2 separate regions of the Homo sapiens genome follow, and region 1 is linked to region 2. Evidence: promoter capture Hi-C in 16 types of primary human blood cells and fetal thymus (Javierre and others, 2016). All regions are on one chromosome and are shown on one strand. Each heading gives the region's core, a stretch centred on a gene start or on the middle of the fragment in contact. The rest is flanking DNA. Distances are from core to core; before and after follow the strand shown. Region 1 holds the start of TEX55 (testis expressed 55). Region 2 holds the start of ADPRH (ADP-ribosylarginine hydrolase).

Region 1 (2,734 bases), core at 235-2,734, 430 kb before region 2:
CTACATTTAAAAAAAAGATCTCAAATTGATAAATCATCATTTTGTAAAATATATACATACCTATAGATATAGACACATAGATTTGCATGGGGGTATTTCCAGAAGGATAAACATCAAAATGTCAATACAGGTTATCTCTTGAGTGTTTGGGAATTTTTTTCTTTACGCTTTCTTTTTTATATTTCTATGATTATTACATTTAAGTTATAAAATGGAAAAATAAATCTCCAAAACCAATAGCACTTTGAAGCTACAAGCCATAGCCCAAGACCTATTTTACTCTAAACACAGTATCCAATGGTGTCATGCATTTTTAAATAAATAAGGTAGATAATTCATAAAGTGACATTCAACAAGCACTTCTTGAGCACCTATTATGTTCTAGGCACTGTTACATAAATGACTTTACTTCAGTGTGCTTAGATTCCCCTTTCCATTCCTAAGTATGGTGTCAAGTGTATCCACTCTCCTTTGTCACAAGTATTTGAATTTGGATTTTAAGTCTCATTTCTAATTGTTTAATGCAGTTAAATCCCTACTAAAGGAATATCTGGCATCACACTACCAACCCTTGGCCTGCCTCAGTGATTTCAGGCTTTGCAAGGTCAAAGTAATTTGTCTCATCAATCACCACCTCTGTACTGGCCTACTCCTGAAAGTAGACAGCCTACTGACTCTGAGGTGCATTCTTAAGGTTGATTGCAAAGTGGGAGGACCAAATCTCAAAAACTGGGCCCCACTGGCCAACACTATCAAATACAAATTCTCCACTTGCTAAATATTCCTTCTGGTATCTTTCTCCCACTTTCCTTACTCCCTTCCTTTCTGGAACTCTGATTTGGCCTCCTTCTAACTCGCCTCTCTGCTGTAAGACCACTAGATGGTGCAGTTTTAGAACCCATTCTCACTGGATCTTCTCTCCTCTCTCTGGCTCTCCCGCCACAGATCACATGTCTAATCCAGCAAGAAAACACCTTGGGGCAGGAGTTTCCACTGCCAAGACAGCTATACCCAAAGGGGATGGCAATAGCAACAACCTCTGTTCAGTTTTGTGGTCCTCGTGCAGCTGGTTGTGTGTTCATCTGTTGACATTTGGAGGTGCGGTGGGGGATGTTAATCAGAGGAGCAGTACCTGAGAGAGGGCCTCTTTCTCACACACTGCGGAGAACCTCTGTGAACAAGGAAGAGGGTAACACTCTAGGTGGCGATGCACGGAGCCCCGTGGCCTGGTTGCTCGGCAGGGTGAGGAGAAGCTGTAACTGCCAGAGCCTGAGAATCGCCCCTTCTCAGGACATGGCGTACTCCCTGCGCTCGCCTGCACACTGCAGGGTCAGCTGACTGCCGTCCCTCCACTTACAACAGCGGGACGGCCACTCTCCCTGACGCACGCAGTGACCCGAACAAAGCCCGTGGGAATCATGGGGCGTTCCTGGAGGGTCGCCTAGACGACCCAGCCCAACCCCACCCACAGTGCCTGGCAACCTAGACCAGTCAGGGACGCGGCAGGAAATGGAAGAGCCTCCGCAAGAGGCTCTGGCTGAACCCTTGAAACATGAAAGCCCAGCCGCTCCCTCAAGTGCTGGCCACACTAAGGGCCAGGAAGAAGACGACCAGAAGAACCAGGCCGAAAGGAAGGCAGATAACCACACTGCTCACAGAATAGCTGACCAGACTGCCCTAAGAGTGCCTAGCCAGGCTGAATCCAGCATATTTAGCCAAGCTACCAACGGAGTAGCTGAACAAAATGGGCATAGTACACCTGGTCAGGCTGGCCGCAGAGCATCCAACCCTGCTGATGTTTCTGACCTTAGAGCAGATGATCAGGTTAATCAAACACCGTCTGAACAGACTAAAGGCAAGGCATCTAGCCAAGCTAATAATGTACAGCATGAACAGAGTGATGGTCAGGTGTCTGGCCTGACGGAGGAAAGAACTGCTGAACAGACTGAACGAAGATTACCTACCCAGGCTGAGAGAAGAACTTCTGGGCAGATTGATGGTAGACTGGCTATGCCATCTGACCAGAGAGGTTCCAGACAGACCGACCACAGAATGGCAGGCCAGTCTGAGAGAAGAGCTTCCGAGCAGATGGACCGCAGAATGTCTGGCGAGGCTGAGCGAAGAACTTCTGAGCAGATTACACACAGATTATCCAAACTATCTGAGAGAAGACCTTCTGTGCAGATTGACAGTGGGTCATCCGTCCCATCTGACCAAAGTCCTTCTGTACAGATTGACAGTGGATCGTCCGTACCATCTGACCAAAGACCTTCCGTACAGATTGACCGCAGAATGTCAGGGAAAGTTAGGAGAAGAAGTTCTGAGAAGACTGACTACAGATTGGCTGGCCTGGCTGACCCAGGAACTTCTGAGCAGACTGACCTCAGATTGTATGGCCTCGTTGACCACAAAACATCTGTAAAGACTCACCACCAAGTGTACGGCCAAGCCACTGAACTAGCTGAACACCAGGCTATTGACCAAGCTCATAGTAATGCTGATCAACCTCCAGTTGACAATGCTCACTACACTGAATCTGACCAGACTGACCACTTAGCAGACAGACAAGCTAATCATAAAGACCAGCTGTCTTACTATGAAACACGTGGCCAGTCTGAAGACAGAATATTTCCCCAGTTAGGCAACAGCAAAGAGGACAAAGAGGCTGACTACAGAGTACAACCCTGCAAATTTGAGGATAGCCAAGTAGACCTCAATTCCAAGCCTTCAGTTG
Region 2 (2,794 bases), core at 135-2,634:
GTCACGATTTTGTGAACATGTGTTCTATGAACAGCCATGAAGATTGACTATGCTTGCTCAGATTACCGATTGCCTCACTTTTCCTTACCTCATCTTTCTCTGAACCTTGGACCACCTTCCTCCCCTATCCCATAAGCACTCCTAAAATTCCATCTTTGGAAAGGCACATTTGAGGCCTGTTCTCCAGTCTCCTGTCTTGGCTGCCTTGTGAATACACCCTTTCTCTACTGCAAAACTTGTGCGCCTCAGTGATTGGCATACTGTGTGAAAGACAAATGAGCCTGGTTCCCTGACAGGAGCTGAGCTGTCTCTTCCTGCATGCAGCCAGCAATAAAGATTCCTCTAGGAGAGGTATGTTCTCCACGCCAGAGCGAGAAAATAGCTCTCATCACCAGAGATTTGGAACTGGAGGTGGCATTTGGACTGGAGTAAACATTCTTGCAAAGTAACCATTATCTTCCACCTGTTTTACACCCCACCCCCCATATATCTCCTAGGGGCTCCCCTAGAAATTTTTTACCACCCTAGCCGGATTTTCTTTGTCCTGTCACTTCTTCTTAAATTTATCACTCTTTTTCTAAAAAGTATAAAAGCATCTTGCTTTGGACACTTTCTTCAGGATTCAGTCTCTTAACATCCCCATGTACATGTAAAATTAATAAAATTTGTATACTTTTCTCTTGTTAATCTGCCTAGTGTCAATTTGGCTTCTAGATGCAGCTGATTAGCTCACTAAGAGCTAGAGGGTGTAGGGGGTTGGAGGTGATCTCTGCCTCCCTTATTGGTGAACTTGATTTTTGTAAACACTCAAAAGTCACTTAGGCTAGAGTTGGAGATGGAGATGGTTATTCACTGGGAAGGCCACAAGAGAATGTTTTAAAGTGATGGAAATATTTCATATCTCGATTATGGTGTAAGGACATTTCATTATATATAAATTATATATCAATTTTTTAAAAAGCTCTCAGACCAAGGCTAGTCATTACAGCAAGAAAATAGGCATAGCAAATTTAAAACTTTGGAGAAATATATAGAATATTTGCATATGGTGATTCTGATTTGCTTTAAAAGTGACATGATTAATGTATTTAGACAAAAATACTCTTCGTTTTTCTTTGCTTTTATTTACGATCAGGATACAAGAATTCTACGCTGCTGCCAAATAAATGACTAGTTAAAATTAACTAACTGAATCCTTAACAACCATTCTAAGAGGCAGATATTATTATCCCACTTTATGCGTGAGGGCCCAGAACCCTGGCAAGGGCGGCACACTCAGTACGCTCTTCAAGCATCTGGGCACACCCGGTCCACTACAGTCCTACAAAGTCGGACGTGAGCACGGGCGAAGGCGTCAGCCGGGGCCACACGGGAGTCACTGACCACAGCCAGGCGAGAGCCGGCTTTCCGGTGCCGCCACATTCCGGGCACCAGGCTCCGGGCTCTTCAGAGCATTTGGGGCGGGCGACGGAGGTCCCGTCCACTCTCGCTTGGGTGCAGAAGGGCGCGGCGGTGCCAGGAAGCCGCCTTGGAGGCTCCAAGATTAGCTCACTCAGCGCGGCCAAGCGCAGGTGCGGGGGCCCTCGCCGCCACCCTGCTTATCTGGGGACAGTCCCGGAACCCGGTGACCCGGCTCCGCCCCAACCCGCGCCCTCGTCCACCCGCAGCAGCCAAGGCCTCTTCCCCGGCCCCGGGAGCCCGCGCCACGCCCGTCGCTCGCGCGTTCCAGTCCAGGCTACAGCAGGTATCGCGATCCCGGCCCTCGGCCCCGCGCTCCCCTCCCCCGCCCCTGGCGCTCTCCGAGTGTGGCCGACCATGAGGATTCCCAGTCTTGCAAATCGTGGGAGCGTGTCAACCGCCCCGTTTCTTTCCAAAGCCGGGCATGGCCCGGAAGCAGCTGATCAGATCTTAGTTCTGAATGTATAGTTCGGGTACGAGAATGTGACCCGTGAAAGTTCAGAGGAGTTAAGTAATTACAGCGTTCTGAAAGCGAACGTTAAAGGGAATTTACAACCGAAAAAAGATGCCGGTCTTCTTCCCCCATCCCAGCTTGCAATTCACAGAAGCACACATTAGGGTGGAGCCAGAAGGAATTACGGAAAGGACAATGAGGACATTGAGAGGGAGGGTATGGGGGGTTAAAGTTAGTCCTCCGAGGCCAAGAAGCAGAGTGTCTTGGCCTAGTGTCTGAAAATCGCAGCGCAGGACGGAACTTCCGAGAGCCTATACCTCCCCACTTCCCCCTCCAGTTTACAGATGGGCAAACCGCTGTCCCGGGTGTCTGTCAGGTCTAGTAGCCCAGAATCTCAGTGCCTAGGCTTCACTGTAAATAATAAACTATGTAAATAACATTTACAAATATCCTTTGTGAGCTCAGAAACTCAGCATTACCAGTAACTGGGTAGTGGAACGCATCCATCTTCGTCGTTTACTCCTTCTCCAGGGGCTCTCCAGCCTGCATTCCATGGCCAACAGCAGTGCAGCTGCAGAAGCACTTCTGGAAGCCTCCTGACTTGAACTAGACCTTGGGTAAATAGGGTTTAGATAAGTGGAGGGGAGGGAAAAGTTTCACCTGAGGGGAGAATGAGCTAGTCTGCCAGACCCTTATAAAAGTATTGGCCTGGATGGGATGGAGGGCTTTGACCTGAAAGCCACAGGGAGAAGGGAACCCTGAGGAATTGGCTGAAAGAGGGGGGTTCTTAGGAAATGCACCAACAGGGAAGCCAGCGCTTTACCAGGGATTTCATTCATGGTGGGTATATTATTAATAGAGATTCGAATTCTCTAGAAGCTG

The links. Contacts are between HindIII fragments. The CHiCAGO score rates a contact against its expected background, and 5 or more counts as called.
Region 1: a contact is called between the fragment with the promoter of TEX55 here and the fragment with the promoter of ADPRH in region 2, in 6 of 17 cell types (fetal thymus, naive CD4 T cells, total B cells and 3 more). The highest score is 8.9, in fetal thymus.

The regions. Positions count from the first base shown.
Region 1 is chr3:119,144,681-119,147,414 of GRCh38, forward strand. It overlaps TEX55 (testis expressed 55), which reads left to right and starts at 1,485. Exons shown (of 3, transcript NM_152539.3): 1 at 1,485-2,734. The coding sequence starts at 1,510. It also overlaps a transcript of IGSF11 not described here. RefSeq lists a silencer at 742-1,036. The HindIII fragment of the contact is 11,642 bases long and covers 1-2,734 here.
Region 2 is chr3:119,578,108-119,580,901 of GRCh38, forward strand. ADPRH (ADP-ribosylarginine hydrolase) reads left to right here and starts at 1,385. Exons shown (of 5, transcript NM_001125.4): 1 at 1,385-1,744; 2 at 2,444-2,529. RefSeq lists enhancers at 989-1,490, 1,275-1,374, 2,315-2,534 and a silencer at 1,555-1,694. The HindIII fragment of the contact is 4,349 bases long and covers 1-2,794 here.